Linked DNA regions of Homo sapiens: all the other regions are linked to region 2. The links are contacts of gene promoters, found by promoter capture Hi-C in blood cells and fetal thymus (Javierre and others, 2016). All regions are on one chromosome and are shown on one strand. The core of a region is centred on a gene start or on the middle of the fragment in contact, and the rest is flanking DNA. Distances in the headings are between cores, read along the strand shown.

Region 1 (3,801 bases), core at 539-3,038, 630 kb after region 2:
TATATTCAATGAGAGCAATGTCCCCATAAACCCTACCAGGAAATGAGTGGGTATAAAACATTCAGGTTTTATACCCCCTCAAACTGTCACTCAAGTATAAAATCAAAGGATGGATGCTCTCAAACATGCACAGCTCAGGAATTCTGTGTCCCATGGGCTCATTTTGAAGAGAACAAAAGAGGACAAATTTAGCCAATGAAGGCATCCACGGAATTCAGTAAGATGATGAGCATCCAGCCATTAAAAAATATAAATTTGTACATTTCCTTATGTATAAAATTGTGTATCAGAAGAGGAACACTGTAAAGTAATACTGAGCTCTGGGTGGTGAGATGCATGCTGGGGAAAGTATATTGATGTCTTTGTCATACTTTGAATTGTATACATAAATAAGATGGATTGATGGGTAGATAAATCCATGACAAAACAAGTACAGTCAGCCCTCTGGATCTGTGGACTCAACCAACCAAGCTTGGGTTGAAAATATTTTTGAAAACATTATGTATCGAACATATGCAGACTTTTTTCTTATTCCTTAATACAGTATAACGATTATTTACACAGTATTTATATTGTCTTGGGTATTAAAGTAATCTAATTTAAAGGATATGGGAGGATGTGCATAGGTTATATGCAAATACTACGCCACTGAATTAATTATTTAGAGACAAGGTCTTCCCTCTGTCACTGAGGCTGAAATTCAGTGTTGTGTGATCATAGCTCATGGCAGCCTCAGACTCCTGGGCTCAAGCAATCCTCCTGCCTCAGTCTTCCTAGTAGCTGGGACTACAGGTGTGCATCACTGTGCCCAGCTAAATTTTTTATTTTATTTTATTTCTTGTAGAGATGGGGGTCTTGCTATGTTGCCTAGGCTAGTCTTGAATTCCTGGCTTCAAGTGATCCTCCTGCCTTGCCCTCCCCAAGTGCTAGGATTACAGGCATGAGCCACCGTACTTGGCCAACTATGTCATTTTATATCAGGGACTTGAGCCTCCAAGGATTTTGGTATCTGGGGAGGTCCTGAACGAGTCCCCCATAGATATCAAGGGCCAACTGTAGAGTAAAAGTTTCGTACAATCTAGGTGGTGGGTATACAAGTAATCCTTGTAATTTTTTTTAGTGTTGCTGTATGTTTAAGAATTTTATATTAAAATGCCAGAAAAACATAAGCCTCCCTTTGTGGGAGAATTATGGTTACAAAATGGAATGCAAATATTATATACCATGTCCATACAGAAATGACAATACACCTTAGGGGTGTAAAAGGAGAAATTGGGGAGAGAAAAGGAACAGGTTTGTGTAAGAATGTGACCTTCCTCTTCATAAGCAGCGGAAAGTGAGAGATTCAGTGGATATTGTTTGAAGGTGATAAAGCAACTGAGAGTATAAAATGTTCCAAGAGAAATAAGCCCAAAATCTGAATGGTGGAAGGCACAGAGGAAACAGTGGGAGTGTCCTATTTTGGGCATTACTTGGAGAATCAGTAGATATGATATAAATGCTTTCAAGACAAACTAGGACCACAGAAACCATCTCTGAGATACAATGCTAACTGGGTAAGGCACTATCATTTGTGATTAAAAGCAACTCAAACATATGCATAGGCAATCTTGGGAAAGATACTGTTAACCATGGTTCCTTTTAGGACAGAGAGGAGGATTGGGTGGGAGTGACCGTTCTGTTTCAGCCCTGTGTTCTTTTATACTAAAACAAGCCAGCAAACCAACCTTTGAGATGTGTTGCCTTAAACATTACTGAATGGGGGTGGGGGAGATTCGGCTCCAACTTGCCCCCCTCAGCCCCAAATAAAAAGAAACATTTAAATGACTGTGAAAGACAGGTCCTAATTGTAAAGAGGGAATGGCTTTAGGAGGAGGAAGATCAATACTGCTATGAACTACTAAGGGACAGAAAGATTTCCTCCCATTGGAAATCTTTAAAGATAAAACACACTCCCTGGTCCTGTGCTTTGTAAGGCTGTAAGTGGAGGAAATGGATGAGGATTCACTACTCTTTTGGTCTCAGGAGTATTTAAGGAATTGAACCACAGCTGCAATCACTACACTCAATGTGGAATGTTCTGTGGGTTTTAATTTCTTCTGAGTGAATCATTTTTATTTCTAGATGGTAGATATTTTTAACCTTGCTTCCCTGTATGGACCAGTCAGTCATGGCTGCCGGCCTCTGTCCCTAACCATCAGGATAGGACCTCTGGCTTCCACAAAGTCAGCCCCCAGCATGGGGCACTGACTTCTCTACCCTTTGAACTAGGCCTATGATCCCGAGGTAGCCTCCAAAAAAAATCTAAGGTCTGACATTAATTACCTGCCTTTGCATTTTCCTCCTTGTTCTGCTTCAGGATTCAGGTCCGTTCCTCTGAAGAATGGGTACAGCGAGGACATAGAGCTGGCTTCCCTCCTGGTTTTCTGTGAGATGCGGCCAGTCCTGGTGAGTGGAGAAACACCAGTTAAGGGTTCCCTGAGCTATGCCTGCTGGTGAGGGTAGAAACGGCCCGTGAATACAATTGGCAGATGGACTTAAGCCCATTCAGAATTGTCTAGCCCAAGCATGAGACATCATACAAGAATTCCTTTTTGCTAATTCCCCAGAGTGTCCTGGGTTTTCCCTCCCAGCATCCTCCTTTCCTGGAGAATGCTGTGTGATTCTGTGTAGGCAGTGTAGGAAAGGGTGCCGGTACTTGTAAGTTCCCCATAGTTTCACTTCAGCAAGAGCCAGGCCAGATGATGCCTTCCTAGATAGACTCATCCTTTCTGGATGCTTTTTGGTGCCAGTGCATCTTTAGGAATCCTATCAAAAAGTCTGATAGCCTCCAATCAAGTAGAATGACCATAAATTAATCACCCCCCAAGCTGAGCATTTAGATGGAATCCATTTACAAATAAGGCGATCATGCACAGCTTTAGGTGAGTACCTTTTTCCTCCTTTACGCCAGAATTCTTTCCTTAGGATCAATACTCAGATATAGAATTAGTGGGATCAATTAATTTAGCTGAATGGTAAAACTGTAAAACCTGGGCTTTAGCAGAAGCCTTAAACCAGTGAGCATGAAGACCCTTTGCTTAGTGAAGCAGACCCTTTGCTTAGTGAAGCTTATCCCTCCCCAGCTCACTGAAGATCTGGGATTTGTGCATCTATTGCCCGGGGAAAGGGAACCAGTGCTGCTTCTCTCTATACATAAAACCCCTCCGCAGACACTTCACAGAAAAGTCAAGTGATAAAAATGGTTTTAGATTGTGGTAGGGCAGCATTTGCCTAGGCCCGCTGCTCTGCAAGGCTGTTGTAAACAACCGGAAACATTATAAATAATTTAAGTGATTAGGTATCACCAGCAGCAGAGAAAATTAGTATATTTAAAAGAAAATTGTGTTGATGCAGATTTGACTTCCTTGATGAGGGAAGCTTAATGCCGGGGCTGCCACTGTAGGGAGCCAGGGGCGTTGTGTGGGGTTCTAAATGGAAAGTCGACGCTCACAAATCTGCTTTCTGAAAGTTTTCTTTAGTTCAGCTGCTAGGTCTTGAGATTTCATTTAATTCCACATCTGTCACCTGGTTCTGTGCCACTCACAGGTGCAGCTCGGCATTTCTGTCCACACTGGGATGAAGAGTCGCTCTTGGAAGCCGAGCTGAATTGCATTCGGTAGACCTGGGCTTTCTCCTTAATGCCCACGGTCATACCTTTTATTTATCACCATATCCTCTGGAAGCCAGGGAGAAACTCTGGTAAACAGCCTCAATGCAGACTTTTCTGAGCAAATGATTGATCCAGTAAGGGCTAAGATG
Region 2 (3,604 bases), core at 524-3,023:
CCAGGCATGGTGGCACATGCCTGTAGTCCCAGCTACTTGGGAGGCTGAGGCAGGAGAACCACTTGAACCCGGGAGGCGGAGGTTGCAGTGAACAGAGATTGCACAACTGCACTCCAGCCTGGGCAATAGAGGGAGACTCCATCTCAAAAAAAAAAAAGAAAGAAGAAAATATTTTTCAACATCCACAAAAATATAGAAACAGTACAATGAATCTCCACATCCCCATTAAACATCCACAACAATATAGAGACAGTACAACGAATCTCCACATCCCCATTACGTGGCTTTAACAATTAGTAACTTGCGGCCACTTTTGACTCATCTACACTCCCATCTGCTTCCCCATCCCTTTGTTTTGTTTTGAAGCAAATCCTAGACATCTTTATCATTGCATCCGGGAACACTGAGCTGCATTTACAGAAGAAAGTGGAAATGCATGTGTCTTCCACAGCCGTACCCTCCCCATCTATTCTGCCCTGAAAACAGTTAGATACTCGGATTCCTGCCAGTGACTCCAAAGCCTTGGCTGGTTCAGGGTAAATACCCAAGACTTTATTGGAGCCTTTCAGTTGGTTGAAGGACAGTGAAAATTCCATCCTGTCTTGCCTGGAATGCTAGCCACATTCTTCTGGTCCGGAGTCCTCATACAATTGCTAATTTTTTAGAGGCTTATGGAGTCCCTAACGTTTGCACAAAATGGTTGCTACATTCCACACTCCCATGTGCCCTGAGCAACCTCCAGGGAAACTTCAGATACCGTGGGGCTTGGCCTGCCAGCTGAGCTGACCCAGCGATCCTTTCTATCACAGCTTTGATCTTCACTGGGTTGGGAGCCTGTCTGAATCTAAACATCTGCCTCTCTACTGCCCACCCCTTCAGCATTTCCTAGCTCTCCCTGAAAGGTGCAAACATGCATGCAGTTACTCAAACAGAATATTTATCCTTAACTCCCTCTCCCTCACAATTTCTTTTAAAACAATCCACTATTGTCTACCCCCGCCCCCGCATCACCCTTTCATCCAGGTGCCCATTCCCTTCTCTCTAGTCCTGCAATACCTAAGCATCGATCTGCCTTTAGCACATCCATCCCCGCCTTATTCTCCACGCAGGAGCTGAGTGACCTGCACAAAATCCCCTGCTAAATACGGTACTTCCATGGTTCTTCACCACTGCAGAAACCAAACTCCTTCCCACACCAAGGAGGCCCTGCAAAATTTAAGGCCTCCTTCGGACTTCTCCAGCTTCATCTGCTACATCTCCTTCCTAGCCCGCAACCAAAACCATCTTTTCCGGGTCTGTTTTCTCGGGTTTTTGTCCTCTCACCTGGGCAGCTCCTTTTCTCTCATAAATAAAGAAAGCTACAGCGACTTCGCCCTTGCTTCCATGCATCATCTCATGAGTCCACAACAACACTAAGAATTCGCTTTCATTTTGCAGACGGAGAAACTGAGGATGGGCACCTTACCCATGGCCACAGAGCTAGTAAGTGGAACAGCTGCAACCAGGATTCAAACTCGCGGCTCCAGAGGCCACAGGCTTAACCACGGAATCCTAGCCCGCCCGCACATCCCTCCATCGCGGGAGCGACCTATCTCATCCGTAGACACCTTCCGCTGCACCCAGCCGCAGCTGGTCAGGCGGGCGGAGGAAGGAGGCTTCTGATTGGCCATCTCCAGCAGCGGAGGCGAGAAGGCGGGGAGCGACGGTGCGGGGGCGTCGCGGAGAAATGACTTCATGACGCGGCTTCTTAAAGGCGCCGGCCCAGCGCGCCGCGGATAGCACAGGCACGTCCCGGGGGCTCCAGCTTCTGCTCAGAGCGCGGAGAGCCGGGCCGGGCGGGCGCGCGCGCAGGACTCGGGCCGCTCGAGGGGTCCGGCCGGACGGTGTCGGGAGCCGGACCCGTCGGCAGAGGAGCGGGCGCCGCGATGGCTGAGGGCAGTGCCGTGTCTGACCCTCAGCACGCCGCGCGTCTGCTGCGAGCGCTCAGCTCTTTCCGCGAGGAGTCTCGCTTCTGCGACGCGCACCTGGTCCTCGACGGGGAGGAGATCCCGGTGCAGAAGAACATCCTGGCGGCGGCCAGCCCGTACATCAGGTGGGGAGGGGGCTACGGCGGGCGGGCGCGGCGGTGCTGCCCGGAGCCGGAGGCGGGGCGGCCGGGCCGGGCGTGGCCCCCAGACCCTGTCCCCTGTCCCCGGCGCCGGGGTCCCCGCGTCACCGTTGGCGCGGCGTCCCTCCCGGCAAGCGCCGGAACCCGGCCCCGCTGACCGCGTCCCCCAGGCGGCCTCTGTGGCTTCCAGGCCCGCGCTCCCCACTGGACCCCCGCGCCCCTTGGAGTTGTCCCCGGACCCGGGCCGCGATCCCCCGCCTTGTCCCTCCCGGTTCCCACCGCCGCGGCGAGCGCCCGACCTCGGAGACCCTGAGGCCCCCAGACGCCGTCCTGGGCCGGCCGGGACCCGCACCTGCGGGCTGGGCGAGGCCGCGCCGGGGAAGAGTCACCCCCTCGCCCAGGCCGGGCCCGCGGTCCCCGCTGAAGTTCGCCAGTCGCTCGCCTCTGAATCCACGCGCGGGGGCTGGGCCGGCGCCGCCAACCAGGCGGGGAGCGCCCTGCCCGCTGGGAGGCCAGACAGACAGCGCCTCGCTGGGTGCAGGCAGAGAAAACCCTCTCGATGTTCTCCTTGGGTTGGTAGTCCGAACCTCCGGGCGAAATTCTCCTTGCCAAACGTGTCTTTTCCGCTCCATTCTGGTAACTGTTTAAAAGAGGAGTTACACGTTGAAGTAAACTGTAGCGAATTCTCAGGATGCTGTTACAACCCGAGGACCGTGAGAGCCTTGCGACAAAGGGCATTTTAATACTTTAGTAAAGCAAAGCTTAACCTGATTTGCCAACTCAACTAACCAGGTTAATTAAAAGGTTGATAAGACAGTGCTTATACAAGTGTATCAGATCTTGCAGGAGACTATCTTTTCTTTTAGCAACCTTCTTGCAAACTAGGTTGCTGTTTTAATAAAAGGAAAGGGGGGAATGCTAAAAACTGGAGAAACTGACCAGTAAGCTGGTTAAATATAAGCTAGTGGTAGAGAATATCACTACAATTGACAGGTCAGAAAAAGCAAAATGATGTGTATTCTTAGCGCTTTGTCCCAGCAAAACCACCACGCACGCTACACTTTTAACCTTTGCATTGGGGAGATATCTGTGCTAAACTTAGAAGAAATTCAAGTGCCCTTGTAACTTCTGGTTTCTCTTGGATTTGTTTTGTGAATCCATTTGCGCTCTTTGGCGGTGGGGAGTGTGGAGGGGTGGGGGGGCGGGGCGGCAGTAGGGTCTGGGGTAGCATCGTTAGTACAGAATTTGGATTGCTAATGTGACAGACAGCTTCTAGCTGGCAGTTCCGAGGTTTGAGCAACCCATCCCAAATTGGAGTCAGCAGACCAAAGTCTTCCCTGTTTGGGAAAATGCTGAAGAAAACTACTTTAGATGCATTATTGTTATAGTTCTTTAAATGGCATCCGTTTGGCTTAAAAGAAGTAAATTGCAAATTGCCGAATCCTTGCTTGTTATCCTTGTTCGTTTTTCTCCATAGCACTTACCACTTTGACGTAC
Region 3 (3,812 bases), core at 865-3,364, 560 kb after region 2:
CTCCCTGGTGAGGGGATATACCTCTAACTAGGCTGTAATAACAGTATCATTAACAAAGATGATAGCCAACATTTTCTCAGGTGGACTATTTGCTAGGCACTATCCTATGTGTTTTTTTTTTTTTTTTTTTTTTTTTTTTTATTTGAGACAGAGTCTTTCTCTGTTGCCCAGGCTGGAGTGCAATGGCACGATCTTGATTCACTGCAACCTCTTCCTTCCGGGTTCAAGCGATTCTCCTGCCTCAGCCTTCTGAGTAGCTGGGATTACAGGCATGCACCATCACGCCTGGCTAATTTTTGTATTTTTAATTGAAACGGGGTTTCACCGTGTTGGCCAGGCTAGTCTCGAACTCCTGACCTCAGGTGATCCTCCCGCCTTGGCCTCCCAAGGTGCTGGGATTACAGGTGTGAGCCATCATGCCCAACCTGCTCTATGTGTTTTGTATACATTTAATTCCCCCCTAGAGGCCTGTGCAAGAGCTACTGTTGTTATTGCCATTTTAGGGATTAAGAAACTGAGGTCCAGAGAGGTTACTTTGCTGAAGGCCTGTTTACTGCAGGGTAGTAAGCTGCAGAGCTAGGATTTGATTTTCTGCCCAACTTTGACGCATAGCCATGGAATACTTCTTAATTTTTGAATCCTTTGTATTAAAGAAAATGTAAAGCATATAGAAGTAGAGAGAATAGCGTAACAGACCCCCATGTATCATCAGCTGACTTCAGCCATTATCACCTTGTCACTGCCCTCACCCAAGTCCCTTTTCTCACACTTTGCAGCAGACATCAAGCAGCGTATCAGGTCATCTGCCAATACTGTAATTTAATACCTGGCTACGTGACTGCTACCCTGCTACCTCCTGATCAAACCTGTGAAGTCCCCTGTGGTTACAGCATTCTTACATAAAAATAGAAAGCACTTGCAAAAAATCAAAAAGAAAATTGAGAAGGCTGCTAACGTATCTCTGGTTGTTCCTATGATCCAGTAAGGCATTGAAGGATTATTCTGCCGGATTTTACATGGGTGTGAGCATGGGGGAAGTGAGTGATGAGCGTTCTGTGACGATGTTTGTGGAGGAGCTCAGAGATCTTGCAGTTTATTCTTATTGTCAGTGGCTGGCAAGAGGAGAGTCCACAGTGGAGAAGTTAGATAGAATCTCTGGTTAGCTTTTCTTTTTCTTTCTTTTTTTTTTTTTTTTTTTTTGTTTTTGAGACAGGGTCTCACTTTGTCACCGAGGCTGGGGTGCAGTGGTACAATCATGGCTCACTGCAGCCTCGAACTCCCTGGCTCAGATGATTCTCCCACCTCAGCCTCCGGAGTACCTGGGACCACAGGCGTGTGCCACCATGCAGGCTAATTTTTGTATTTTTTGTAGAGACAGTTTCACCATGTTACCCAGGCTAGGCTTGAACTCCTGGGCTCAAGTGATCCACCCGCCTTGGCCTCCCATAGTGCTGGGATTATAGACATGAGCCACTGTGCCTGGCCTAGCTTTTCTATTGATGAGATTTTACCCTTGGCCTTCCAGAACCAAATGGTTTCTACAGCCTAAGTACCACTGAGTGCGTAAGACCAGCTTCGGTTGTGAAAGGGCGTGTGCCTTCAGCCACGTGGGAAAACTCCATTCCTTTCCCTCCCTTTCTTAGTGCCCTGGCCCCTGCTTCTGTGACCCCCGCCTCTGGCATGGCCCCTTCTCTTGTCCAGCTGGTAACTTCTCCTGGGGCCCGACTCAGAGATGACATTTCCCTGTAGCCTTTTAGCTACCAGAAGAAATTAGTTTATCTATTATTTTAGTCACTCATCCAGTAAATGTGTGCGTGACCCAAGAGGCACAGTGGTTAACAATACAGCTGTTTCTCCTGACCTCACTGGCCCTTTGCTGGGGTGGGAAGGTCCTGGGATGTTGCCCAGAGTGACATAAGGCCCAGTGCCACCCCTGTCCCTTGGTTAGGTAGAATCTGACCACATAACCCTCCATGGTAATGCCGAACATAAATTAACTGCTGCCTCCACGGTGCACCCGTAGCATCTAGAATATTCTGTGATTGCTGGAATCTCATTTATTGTGTGTACATATGTACGTGTAGTGTGGGATGCTAGAGATTTACCAAGGTGGGCCTGGGTTGAAATTCTGGCCCTTGGACTTGTTAGGAGAAAAGTCCTTGCCTCCCTGGGCCTGTTTCTTGTTTCTGAAATGGGGCTTATTTTACTACCTGATGGGATCAGCAGGAGGAGTGACTGAGACTGTCACCGTCTTGCCCCAGCTCATGGAGCCCATGTTCATTTCCTGGGGCCGCTGTGGCAAGTACTGCAACTCGTGGCTTAAAAATAACAGAAGTGTCGGGCACGGTGGCTCACGCCTGTAATCCCAGCACTTTGGGAGGCCAAGGCGGGCGGATCGCGAGGTCAGGAGATCGAGACCATCCTGGCTGACACGGTGAAACCCTGTCTCTACTAAAAATACAAAAAAAATTAGCTGGGCATAGTGGCGGGTGCCTGTAGTCCCAGCTACTTGGGAGGCTGAGGCAGGAGAATGGCGTGAACCTGGAGGCGGAACTTACAGTGAGCCGAGATTGCGCCACTGCACTCCAGCCTGGGCGACACAGCGAGACTCCGTCTCAAACAAACAAAACAACAAAACACAGAAGTTTATTCCCTCACTGTACTGGAGGTTAAAAGTCCAAAATCCAGGTGTTGGCAGGGCCACACCCCTCGGAAGGCTCCAGGGAAGGATGTGTTCCAGACATCTTTCATGGCTTCTAGTGGCTGCCAGCAATGCTTCAAGCATTCCTCGGAGTGTGGACACCGCCTGGCTGCTGGTGGCTGCCAGCAGTCCTACAAGTGTTCCTCGGTGTGTAGATGGCATTGCTCTTTGGTGTGCAGACACCATCACTCCTCGGCATGTAGGCGTCATCGCTTCTTGGCGTGTAGATGTCATTGCATCGCTCCTTGGCTTGTAGATGTCATTGCATCGCTCCTTGGCTTGTAGATGTCATTGCATCGCTCCTTGGCTTGTAGATGTCATTGCATCGCTCCTTGGCTTGTAGATGTCATTGTGCCAGTCTCTGCCTCCATCATCACATGGACCCCTTTTCTCTGTGTGCTTCTCTGTCTCCAAATCTCCCTCTTTTTTTTTTAATTTTTTTTTTTTTTTTTTTTTTTTTTGAGAGGGAGTCTCGCTCTGTCACCCAGGCTGGAGTGTAGTGGCGCCATCTCGGCTCACTGCAAGCTCTGCCTCCCGGGTTCACGCCATTCTTCTGCCTCAGCCTCCCGAGTAGCTGGGGACTACAGGCGCCCACCACCACGCCTGGCTAATTTTTTGTATTTTTTTAGTAGAGATGGGGTTTCACTGTGTTAGCCAGGATGGTCTCCATCTCCTGACCTAGTGATCCGCCTGCCTCGGCCTCACAAAGTGCTGGGATTACAGGTGTGAGCCACCGTGCCCGGCCCAAATCTCCCTCTTTTAAGAAGCCAGGCACTGGATTCGGGTCCACCCTAACCCAGCAAGGCCTCATCTTAACTTGATTGCACCTTGCAAAGACCCTAATTCCAAAGAAGGTCATGCCCATGGGTACTGGGTATTAGGACTTGGACATATATTCCCGGGGACACCATCCTATACATAATACTAGCTATAACTTTTTCTATCTTTAGAACGTCTTCCTTGATCACCTGTGCCCCATACTGTCAACTACAGCCCCATTTATCTGCCCCCTTTAAAGTAACCTACTCCAAGAGCTGTCTACGCTTCCCTTCTTCCTACTGTCTCTTGAGTCTATTCCCGTCTTGTTTCCATCCCTGCCTCCTAGAGCACT
Region 4 (3,701 bases), core at 515-3,014, 580 kb after region 2:
AGCAACGTTTTGTAGCAGTTACTCTATAGACTTTCTTCCCGTTTATGATTTTTCTCCTCCCTCAGGAAAAAACAAATGTTTAAAAGTAAAGCTTGAAGCAGTCAGCTCCTGTGCCCTCCAGGGGTCCAAAAGATTGGGGATGTTCATCTTCCACATGACCCATTTCTGTTTGAAAATATTACTGTGAACCTTTACAAATAAATTTCTCATTGCTCTGTATCATTTCCACGGGCAGAAAAGGCAGTCAAGGTTTTCAACAGGTAAAGTCAGAAAATAAAACACGTGGTAAAATCTTCTTTAAAAAGAAGCATTGAGGTTGGGCGTGGTGGCTCACGCCTGTAATCTCAGCACTTTGGGAAGCTGAGGTGGATGGATCATGAGGTCAGGAGATTGAGACCACCCTGGCCAACATGGTGCAACCCTGTCTCTACTAAAATACAAAAAAATTAGCCGAGCGTGATGGTACGCGCCTGTAGTCCCAGTTACTCAGGAGGCTGAGGCAGGGGAATTGCTTCAACCCGGGAGGCGGAGATTGCAATGGGCCGAGATTGTGCCACTGCACTCCAGCCTGGGCAACAGAGCGAGACTCTGTCTTAAAAAAAAAAAAAATGAAAAAAAAAGCAGCATTGAAACTAGCTTGTCTTGGACAGCTGCACTTGCATTATGTAAGCGCACAGGGAACCCTGCGGATACAGGGAAAGCCATGTCCTCGTGTTGGCAGCCGAATGGAGGGAGTGTGGGTGTCCTTGTCTAGTAACTGAACTGGTGTGTGGGCCGGGGGCTGACCTCGGGGCTGTCAGTGAACACACGTGGTATTGAGGCTGCCGCGTTTCTCCCTGTAGTGGACTGCTGGGACGGGCCCGATGGGAAGCCGGTCATCTACCATGGCTGGACGCGGACTACCAAGATCAAGTTTGACGACGTCGTGCAGGCCATCAAAGACCACGCCTTTGTTACCTCGAGGTCAGTTGGCTGATTTCTGGGTGGTGTGACTTAAAGGGGAAGGCAGCTAGGGTTGGATAGACAGATGGACAGACAGGCAAACACACACAGACACCTCCCTCCAAATGCGGGAAGGCCTGGGCCCCATCTTGGCCAAAGCCACTGCCATCAAGTTCTCACCCGAGTGTTGGCACCCCCTGCAGGCCGAGAGTGCAAGTTGCTCCCGGGCTCTAGAGCCCCGAGGAGGCTCTGGCTGGGGAACCCTGTGGCTGCTCAGTGCCCACCCCACCTCCTCATTCTGTCTGGCCCCCACTTTCAGAACCCCCGAAAGAGAGGGAAAGGCTGGGCGCAGTGGCTCACGCCTGTAATCCCGGCACTTTGGGAGGCTGAGGTGTGATCACTGAGGTCAGGAGTTCGAGAAGAGCCTGGGCAACATGGTGAAACCCCTTCTCTACCAAAACACACACACACACACACACACACACACACACACACACACACACACACACACACACACACAAATCATCTGGGTGTAGTGGCATGTGCCTGTAGTCCCAGTTACTTGGGAAGCTGAGGTGGGAGGATTGCTTGAACCTGGCAGGCAGAGGTTACAGTGAGGTCACATTGCGCCACTGCACTGCAGCCTGGGCAACAGAGCGAGACCCTGTCTCAAAGGAAAAAAACCCAAAAAAACAAAAACCAAAAAAAAAGTGAGGCAAGGAAAGTAAAATTCCCCTTCTGTCCTAATTCCCTCTTTTGTGCCCAGTTCTCACCCCCACCAAACCTGTTTCTACAGGCGGAATCCAAGCAGCCAGTAATGGTGGTGGTGTGTTTTTTGAATACCCACCTGGGGCCAGGCTCTGTGCTAGGTTCTTTGTACAGGTGATCATATTGATTCTTTGCCACAAAGTGAGTATGGTCATCCCCATTTAACAGATGAGTAAATTGAGACAAGGAGGGGTTAAATGGGTGAGAACATTTAGGTTCATTTCAAGGGTTTCTGACCTCAGGTGTAATCCTTTTCTGTCCCACCAGAAGATCTTGGTCTGGGCTGGAGGTCAACGAAATTGTTCTATAAAGAGCCAGATACAAATGTTTCAGGCTTTATGGGCCCTGTGGTCTCTGTTGCAACTATTCAGCCCTGTTGCTGAAGTGCAAAGCAGCCATGGGCAAGAGGTAAACACATGAGTCTGGCTGTGTTCCAGTTAAAACTTGAATTACACATTACAAAAATAGATGGCAGGCCAGATTTGGGGCAGAGGCCATCATATGCCGACTCCTGGTTTGGGTTCCTTGTTATTTCTGAGAGCTGGCAAGAGGCCTTCTATAGGCTCATTGGAATGATAGTTGTCTTTTTATACTTTCTGGGGTAGAATAGCAGTTACGAGTATGGGTTCTGAGTCCTTCTCGCTGAGTTTGAATCCAGCTGTTGAGTACTAGTTTGGGCAAAGCACTTACCATCCTATGCTTCAATTTCCATGTTAAAAAATAGAGGTGATAACTGTGTGCACCTCACAGGGCGGTTGTGATGATTAAATGAGATGCCATTACAGCAAGTGCTTAACCCTGCACCTGGCATAGAGTAACTGTTGAGTCAATAAGATCGATTATTTTTTCTCTTTTTTTCTTTTCTTTTCTTTTCTTTTTTTTTTTTTTTGAGATGGAGTCTCCCTCTGTCGCCCAGGCTAGAGTGCAATGGCAGGATCTCGGCTCACTGCAACCTCCACCTCCTGAGTTCGAGCAATTCCCCTGTCTCAGCCTCCCGAGTAGCTGGGATTATAGGCATCCACCATCATGCCCGGCTAATTTGTGTATTTTGGTAGAGATAGGGTTTCACTATGTTGGCCAGGTTGGTCTTGAACTCATGACCTCAGGTGATCCTCCCGCCTCAACCTCCCAAAGTGTGGGGATTATGGGCATGAGCCACCGTGCCCAACCCGATTGGTTATTTTTATTGCATTTACTGCAGATGTCCCTTGAGCTGGGTGGAGGTGTTGCTGTGAGACAATGAAATTATGGACGTCTTTTCGCACTTGGTGAAAACCTTTCAATGAAGGCATATGATTTCTCCATCGCAGCATTCTCCCCTGTGGGGTCCTAGCCCTTCTAAGTGCCAACCTCCATCAGGCAGATGGAAGGAGCTGGTATTAACAGACACTGTGCAGTGGCAGCTTACACTCTGCTTTGAGAGTTTGCTTTCATTTGCAGGACATAGGTGCTTATGGTTGTGAGCTGACAGTCATTCATCGAACATTATCTCATTCATGACTAGAGGAAGTTTTTTCTGGTTAAAATAGGGCTGGAATCATCTAACACCTATAGGGCTAGAACTCTGTAATCAAACATTAATGCATTAATGTTTTGGCAGCAAAAGCCATCCTTATTGGTATTAAGAGGGATTTAAGAAAATGATTGCAAGCAGCGTTCATTCGAATGGTTCAGATTTTGCTGTCAGTTACATTTTGATACCAACTTACTAGGTAGCCTTTGTTGTAAAAGCTTTTTAGCTGTTATGTTCTAGTAAGGGTGTGTGGATCAGGATCGGGGAGTGAGCTGGGTCCACGCTTCCCAGGAGTGATGAGGCTATGATTTACTTGAGCTGGAACATGGTTAAGGATTTTATTTTTATCATCGTCACTTTATTTTCACATTTGCCTTCATTTCTATTGAGTGACGTGATTTCCTATTTATGGAAGTGACATAGCTGCCTTTAGAATAATTTTGTTTCATAGTAAATGCCATGCACAAGCCTCAGATGG
Region 5 (4,223 bases), core at 56-2,555, 850 kb after region 2:
TTCTCAGTGGGTCTCACATTCCTGCACATTTTTTGAGTGAGGCACTAACTGCCCGGTTGCTCTGGACTATCTTTGCAAGGATATCTGCATAGCGAGCAGCCTTGAAAAACAGTCTTCCTCTAAAGCGAAGGGCAGATTTGCTTACTGTCCAGCATAATACAGATGCCTCTCTTGGGGCCGAAGGCAAGTCTGCTTGTGGTCCGTTATCCAAGGTTCCAGTTTTCTAAGCTCAGGAGATCTCAGCTATGATGCAAATCCACTGGGTGCACAGCATCCACCTGGGCCACTTCACGCCATCCCTCATAGGAGTTGGGGACAAAAGAGAAATGACGCAAACTTGATGCTTGTGCTGCTTGCTGTACAGTAAGTCCTTTGTTTCTGATGGTGTTCAGGAGACACTACTCCCAAAATATGGCATCTTGGCATACTGAAAATTTTACACTGGAGGAATCTGAAAAATGACGTGCAGGTAGGATTTTCTGACTGTCCCCTGAAGCAGGTCATAAAAGCATCTCACATAAGAGGTGCCCTCCCTACACTCAGAGGAAAGCAACATCCTTATCTCAGAAGAAGGGACAGAGAGAGGAATCTGAACAAAAGACTTGCTAAGTTTCTCCTGGCTTATTACTCTTCGTTCATACCCCTTGCTCCCATCATATTTCTTCACAACTTTCCACTCTTCATCAAAGCTAACATAAAAACACTCAGGTTCAACCAGTTCTTCGGTATTCATTTTCTTATGAAGGCTCCTGTGTCACCTAAAACTTTTGTGAAATAAAAGTGTATACCTTTCTCTTTGTTAATCTGTCTTTTGTTACAGGGACCCCAACTAATGAACTTCAAATGGGTGGAAGGAAAGGCTATTGTCCCTCCCCTACATCTCAGACCCAGAAGGTTCCTATCTTCCACCAGCATCAGTGAAAGTGTGGCAGGCTAACTTGTTAGTTTCAGGTCCCTATAGCTTCTGACTCCAAACAGACCACAAAACACAAGTATAAGATGTACAATAGCCAAAAATACTTCTTAAACAACTTGCTACGGCAAAGGAGGAATTAAACTGCCTATACTTGCACACTCTTTCTGGACCATATCCTTGGGGAAAAAAACAATAAGGCAATAGATAGCAAAATCTTTCATCTGGTAAATTTCACTCCTAGGAATTCACACTATATCGGGTTCCCTGGAAACAGACTCTGAGACAGACATATATGCAGAAAACTTAGCAGGCAGTGTTGTTCAGCAGATGCCCTTCTAGGAAAACAGAGAAAGAAGGATTGGGCAGAGGGAGAAGATAATGGGCAATGTGGCTACACTAAGGCCTCAGCCACATATGAGAGCTCTGGAGTCAGGAATGCCCTTCAGTTGTTCCAAGTTGAGGCACAGCAGCTAGATCATCATTCCCCTACATGGTCTAGCCACTGGCTAAAAGTGTCCCCTGTGAGGCAGTGTTAACACTGAATAGCCCTAATTATCTTCACTGAATTACAGACTGATACGGCTGACATTAAAAATGGGAAAGTCGAGACTTTCAGAGCACAGACACATGCAATCTCCAAATTCACAGAATAGTTAAGACAACACTAGCAAAAAAGGATACACAAACATAAGTGAGTAGAAAGGAATGGGTGTACTTCATATATTCAGATATAAGGAAATACACACAATGGTGACAATCACTGTGCTTTATGCCTGGTGTTATGGTGACTGTTTTACATATATTACCTCATCTACTTCTCGGAATGTACTGGACAGGTACTATCATCATACCCAATACACAAATGACACAAAACAGGTTAAGTAACTCACCCAAGGTGACAAGTAAACAACTGGCGGAGCTGGGCATCAAACCCAGGTCTGCCTGACTTCAGAGCCCATGTGCTTAATCAACCAATCCATTCCATGATCTCCCTATTTAGAGTGTTAAAAACAACAACTCAATACAACACGTATACCAAGGACATGTCATCCATTCACCCCTCCAGACCTACTTCCCGTCTTCACCTGTTTCTCTGGCCTGGGAGGCTGACTTGAACGTAATGCACGGAAGGGCTCCTTTGCTGCCAGGTACCTGGCTCCCTTGCTAGGATGACCTTGGGCTGGCCGTACCCGTGAATGGAGGTAGCAGCTCCTGTAAGGTGCTCTCTCTACACAACTTATCTGCAGATTCGGTAGCAGCTATTCCCCACCCACCCGTTGACTCTGCAAGCTCAGGTGGTAATCACTCCCACTACACATGCTAGGAGGTGCTGCACTGCCCCGAGGGGCCCCCCTATGCCCCACCCACACCTTGATAGTCTCTCCTCAGTCTGAGAGTGTCATCTTCTCCTGCCAACATCCTGAGCTGATATACACACCTATACATAAACAGGATGCTGAGTAATGGCAAAAAGGCATTATTTACCTTCCCAGAAAGAAATGTAAAGGTCATTTTCTGGGAATAATATGCTGTATTAGGGGAAAAATACTGGAAACAAGATAGAAACAGTCCTGCTCTTTAATAAACAACTGGAAGGAACACTTTGGCAAGTTTACTTAAGGCATAAAAGTAAATTATAGCTCCAGCAGCAAAGGTCCCTTCCTCCCTGTGACCCTGCCCCTGGCACTATCTTCTCCCTCCTCACCAACATCTTGCTTCCTCTGAGAAGCAGAGAAAAAAAGTACCTTCTCCCGATCCCTCCTGGTGGGACATACTTTCTATCTTTAGAGAAGGGTATCTAACCTTCAAACAATGTCCAGAGGTCAGCCAAATGAACAGGGGAATATAACATTCCAAATCAAAGCCCAAACATCAGGTACAGAATGGAAACACATAAATGTGCCTCAAGACAGTAAGCAGCATCTTCAGTCATTTGACCAAAGTTTAAGTAAAACTACCATACAACAGAGCTTACTAAGGTGAGGAAAGTATCAGGGAAAAATGAAAAATAGCTTCCAGAAGGATTCAGCTAAATTAATGGATGAAATAAATCCAACACTCCTTCATTCAAAATTGTTGATCAGGCACCAGCCAAGCTTAGGGGTGGGCCAGAAACTGTCTACCCCAGCCTTCAGCACTGACTAGCTGGGTGAAGCTGGGCAAGTTACCCTCCCTTAAGCTCAGTTCCTCAACTACAAAGTGACAGAATCATAGGAGGCAGTTCCTAAGTTTGCTACGAAGATTCAATAACTACAGATGTAAAGTGTTTAGCCCAGTTCCTGGTACACACTATAGATTCAGTAAATGTTAGCTAAAATGGATGGTATTACAAGTAGTAACAATTTAAAAGAAGAAACAAAAACTTCTGACCTGCCTTAAAATGCTCAACCTAATGAACTCTGTAACCGAAACAAAACTGGAGAGACCTGAAGTACACCCCTAATCTTTAGAACTTAAGGTGATAGAGAGAACATTACAGCTTCCCCAAAGGTCTGCTGTTACTATCAGAGATATGTGGGCTAGGTTCCTTCATTCAATGTAAAAAAGGACAAAATAGTGGCTGGGAGGGGGAGTAGTAAAAATGTATAAATCCATGTACAACTTCTATAGGTTTAATATTTTTTAGTTGTGCTACTAAATCAATAAACTGAACAGAAACAATTTCATGGGCTTTATGTCACCGGAATGATGAGTTAAATTTACCAGGAGTTTCCTTCTGAATGCCACAAGCATCATCAGTATCAATTTTAATAAACCTACTCTTTCTCTTTAAGCTCTGGCAAATCCAAGTACCAGTGCTCTTCACTAATGATTTTCTTTTCTTCTTCTTCTAGTTGTTTCTTGGTTTCTGAGTCCAGTCCCCTTTGCATAAACTGTGAAAACAAACAAAATCAATGTCAGAAACTTTTCCCATTTTAGAACTGAGGAAACCCCAAATAATTTTCTTCTTCTACTTGTTCTCCTTCATTTATCTATGGAACCCATCTCAAGATTGAGGGTTGGGGCAAGTGATCAAACGGTTTAGCTCTACCCTTCCAACTTTACACTAGACGATGAGGGCTTGTGTCAGGGCATGAGAAAATGCACAATGTATATTTCCTTCGGAAAACTTAAGGGCTAAGACACCACATTCGAAGGTCTTGTGCTCACCCACAGAGCCCACTGGCTTTGGCACCTGCTGATCTGGGGTTGAAATGCCCTTCTTATCCTCTTCCACCTGGCCAACTCCTCGCCCGTCTGACATAGGTAAAGCTACTAGACTTCTATGAGTGCCAGTAAAATCAGTGCCTCTGTCCTAAATGCTTCC
Region 6 (3,709 bases), core at 423-2,922, 660 kb after region 2:
TGATCCTCCCACCTCAGCCACCTAAATACCTGGGACTAAAGGCATGCAGCCACATGCCTGGATAATTTATTTTTTATTTTCTGTAGAGATGGGGTCTTGCTATGTTGCCCAGGCTGTTTTCAAACTTGGCCTCAAGCTATCTCCTGCCTTGGCCTCCCAAAGTGCTGGGATTACAGGCATGAACCACTATTCCTGACTACAGAATATATTTTTATTGAATAAAAATTATAAGGTGACAGACCAAAAAAAAGAGACCTCCTAAGCTCATTTTAGGAGGGTAGAGGACAATCAAGGAAGAGAGGGAAAATCAAGAAAAGTGAAAGGAACAGAGAGAAAGGGAGGGAGGATGATGCCAATCTCACTGTTAAATAGAGTAGAAATCCTGAAAAATATTTGCAAACCAATGTTCACTTGTTCATAACGTAGAGTTAATCTCAGGAATCCAGTAATGGTTTAATATTGGAAAACCTATCAATGCAGTTCTCTACATTAATAGATTATGCTTTTCCATAAGGAAATTGATAATATGAAACACATATGCCACATAAAAGCTTTTAGTGAATTAGTGTTTTTTTTTTTTCCAAGGTGGTGGATTAGAGGTTTTTAACATGCCTCAGCCACTTGGAAATAGCAAAGTAGTGCCTAAACTCTCTGAGCTTTAATTGGAGAAGGAAAATTGGAATCCACTAGAATTGTAAAGAAAACCTCAGATCCTGGGTAGAAGAACACAGGCAAACAGCCCCTGTGATGATGTCTAGTTCATAAAAAGATTGTAGTGCCCCAGGGCCTTCTCTGGTTGACACCCAGGCAGATCTCCACTGACCTGGATCAGCAGCCGGAGTTGCCCCACTCTTCCTCTGCAGAAATTGTGGTGAAACAGGGCCCTCTCCGCTCCATGCCCAGGCAGATGTCCAGGCATTCAGAGCACCTCCTTGCCTGAATGAGTAGTCTGAGCCAGCCCACCCTTCCTGTGTAGAGACGATGGTAAAGCGAGGACCTCTCTGTCCCATGCCCAGGCATATCTCTAGGCAGCTGAAGCACCCACTCTCCTGAATTAGGAATTTAGGCTGACCCCTGATCTGTACAGATAACTTGGGGCTGAGGAGGTTTTCCAGCTCCATGCCTAGGCCCACCTCTGGGTATCTGGTGGCTGCCCACTGGATTCTCCCTCAGCACTGGTGCTTGTGCCTGCCACTGGGGGACCTGTAGGTAGGCCTACCTGGTCTGGTCCTGCCCATCATGCCCCCCTCTTCCTGGGGCTAAGCAGGAAGCTCAGAGGACTGTGCATTCCATGCATCAGCCCATTTCCTGAGGCAACGGCGAGCTTCTAGTAGTAAACAAAGGGCAAGTATATACCCAGCATGTTGGCTGCAGCTGCCTCTTACCCTTAAGTACCCTCTACTGGTTTGTAAGTCAAACCACAAAGCCTAATACAAAACCTGCCAAAAGTAGTGCATAGGGTTATAGAAGCAAAGCCAAAAGACCCTACCCACATTCTCTACAGTCACAACTCCTGGGGGCAGTAGCGGGGGTGGTGTGGGGAAGGGAAAGGGAAAGAAGAAAAAACCGGTAATATTATAGAGAAAGAAAAAGAAAAGAAATCCTACCCACATGAAAATAATTACAAGAATTAGAAGAGTCAGCATCTCCAGATGAGAAGGAACTAGCACAAGAATTCTGGCACCATGAAAAATCTGAATTTAGTGGTATCACACTAGCTCTCCAGCAATGGTCCCTAACCAAAATGGAAATGCAGAAATGACAGAGAAAGAATTCAATACATGAATTACAAGGAAGCTCAACAAGATCCATGGCAAGACTGAAAATCAACACAAAGAAACTTCTAAATCAATCCAGTAAATTAAGGAAGAGATAAACATCTTAAAAAGAAATCAGGCCGGGTGCGGTGGCTCACACCTATAATCCCAGCTTTGGGAGGCTGAGGCGGGCAGATCATGAGGTCAGGAGATTGAGACAATCCTGGCTAATATAGTGAAACCACGTCTCTACTAAAAATGCCAAAAAATTAGCTGGGCGTGGTGGCAGGCACCTGTAGTCCCAGCTACTCTGGAGGCTGAGGCAGAATGGTGTGAACCTGCAGGACAGAGCTTGCAGTGAGCCAAGATCATAACACTGTACTCCAGCCAGGGAAACAGGGTGAGACACTGTCACAAAAAAAAAAAAAAAAAAAAAAAAATCAATCAATCAGAACTTCTGGAATTGAAAAACTCACTTAAGGAATTTCAAAATACAATTGCAAACTTTGTCAATAAATTGGCCCATATGGAAGAAAGAATTTCAGAGCTTGAAGACTGGTCTTTCAAACTAATCTAGTAAGACAAAAATAAAAAACAATTTTAACGAATGAACAAAAAACCTTTGAGAAATATAAGATTATGTAAAGTGACCAAACCTATGAATTACTGGTATTCCCGAGAGAAAAGGAGAAAAAATAAGCAAGCTGGAAAATATATTTAAGGGAGTAATTCAAGTAAATTTCCCTAACCTTGCTAAAGAAGTAGACATCCAGATTTTAAAAATCCAGAGAATACCTGTGAGATACTATACAAGACAAACATCAGCAAGCCATATAGTCACCAGATTGTTCAATGTCAATGCTAGAGAAAAAAAATCTTAAAGGCAGCTAGAAAAAAATGTCACATCATGTACAAAGGAAACCCCATCAGGCTAACAGCAGACTTGCAGCAGAAACCTTACAAGCCAGGAGAGATTGGGGGCCCATTTTCAGTATTCTTAAAGAAATTCCCACCAAGATTTTCATATTGCACCCATCTAAGCTTTATGAGTAAAGGAGAAAATAAAATCTTTTACAGACAAGCAAGCAGTAAGGGAATTTGTTACCATTAGATCAGCCTTACAAGAGAATCTTAAGGGAGTTTTAAACATAGAAACAAAAGAAATATACCTCCTACCCAAGAAACACACTTAAGGACATAGCCCACAGACCCTATAAAGCAAGCACACAAGTAAAAACTACAAAGCAACCAGCTAAAAACCTCATGACAGGATCAAAACCTTACACTTCAATATTAATCTTGAATGTAAATGTCTAAATGCCCCACTTTAAAGGCACACACTTGTAAATTGCATTAAAAAACAAGACCCATACATCTGTTGTCTTTAAGACACCCACCTCACACGTAAGCACACCCAGTGGCTCAAAGTAAAGAGATGGAGAAAGATCTGTCATGTAAATGGAAAACAACAAACAGTAGGGGGTCACTATTCTTAGATAAAACAGACATTAAACCAGCAACAACAAAAGGACAAAAAGGCATTACATGATAAAGGGTTCAATGTAACAAGAAGACTTATCTGTCCTAAATGCATATGCACCCAACACTGGAGCACCCAGATTTATTAAAAAACAAACAAACAAAAATAAAACCTACTACTAGACCTTTGAAAAGACTTAGCCACATGATAATACTGGGAGGCTTCAATACTCCACTAACAGTGTTAGACATATCATCAAGGCAGAAAATAAATTCTAGACTTAAATTTGACACTGGACCAACTCGATCTCAGACATTTACAGAACACTCCACCTGTTAACCACAGAACATACATATTTTTCAACTGCACATGGAGCATATTCCAAGATCAACCACATGCTCAGCCATAAAATGAGTCTCAATAAATTCAAAAAAATTGAAATCATACCAGCCATACTTTCAGAACAGAGTGG

What was found. Contacts are between HindIII fragments. The CHiCAGO score rates a contact against its expected background, and 5 or more counts as called.
Region 1: a contact is called between a fragment that was not itself captured here and the fragment with the promoter of GAN in region 2, in 4 of 17 cell types (naive B cells, total B cells, neutrophils and 1 more). The highest score is 6.8, in naive B cells.
Region 3: a fragment that was not itself captured here is called in contact with the fragment with the promoter of GAN in region 2 in 10 of 17 cell types (monocytes, total B cells, neutrophils and 7 more); the score reaches 10.8 in monocytes.
Region 4: a fragment that was not itself captured here is called in contact with the fragment with the promoter of GAN in region 2 in 4 of 17 cell types (naive B cells, neutrophils, total B cells and 1 more); the score reaches 8.8 in naive B cells.
Region 5: a fragment that was not itself captured here is called in contact with the fragment with the promoter of GAN in region 2 in 2 of 17 cell types (total B cells and naive B cells); the score reaches 5.3 in total B cells.
Region 6: a contact is called between a fragment that was not itself captured here and the fragment with the promoter of GAN in region 2, in 1 of 17 cell types (total B cells). The highest score is 5.2, in total B cells.

Annotation. Positions count from the first base shown.
Region 1 is chr16:81,943,816-81,947,616 of GRCh38, forward strand. PLCG2 (phospholipase C gamma 2) reads left to right here. Exons shown (of 33, transcript NM_002661.5): 31 at 2,360-2,448. Among named protein-coding and RNA genes, the nearest start is that of SDR42E1, 66 kb to the right of the region's middle. The HindIII fragment of the contact is 2,639 bases long and covers 470-3,108 here.
Region 2 is chr16:81,313,189-81,316,792 of GRCh38, forward strand. GAN (gigaxonin) reads left to right here and starts at 1,774. Exons shown (of 11, transcript NM_022041.4): 1 at 1,774-2,092. The coding sequence starts at 1,926. RefSeq lists an enhancer at 1,611-1,810 and silencers at 1,821-2,160, 2,301-2,360, 2,381-2,650. The HindIII fragment of the contact is 5,241 bases long and covers 1-2,866 here.
Region 3 is chr16:81,874,838-81,878,649 of GRCh38, forward strand. The region is part of intron 7 of PLCG2 (phospholipase C gamma 2); the gene reads left to right. Among named protein-coding and RNA genes, the nearest start is that of PLCG2, 97 kb to the left of the region's middle. The HindIII fragment of the contact is 7,218 bases long and covers 1-3,812 here.
Region 4 is chr16:81,894,965-81,898,665 of GRCh38, forward strand. It overlaps PLCG2 (phospholipase C gamma 2), which reads left to right. Exons shown (of 33, transcript NM_002661.5): 13 at 843-963. Among named protein-coding and RNA genes, the nearest start is that of SDR42E1, 110 kb to the right of the region's middle. The HindIII fragment of the contact is 3,350 bases long and covers 90-3,439 here.
Region 5 is chr16:82,160,406-82,164,628 of GRCh38, forward strand. MPHOSPH6 (M-phase phosphoprotein 6) reads right to left here. Exons shown (of 5, transcript NM_005792.2): 2 at 3,677-3,789. Among named protein-coding and RNA genes, the nearest start is that of MPHOSPH6, 7.7 kb to the right of the region's middle. RefSeq lists enhancers at 323-467, 2,726-2,870 and cis regulatory regions at 395, 2,798. The HindIII fragment of the contact is 3,410 bases long and covers 1-3,010 here.
Region 6 is chr16:81,972,635-81,976,343 of GRCh38, forward strand. No RefSeq gene overlaps it. Among named protein-coding and RNA genes, the nearest start is that of SDR42E1, 37 kb to the right of the region's middle. RefSeq lists an enhancer at 2,935-3,501. The HindIII fragment of the contact is 2,247 bases long and covers 550-2,796 here.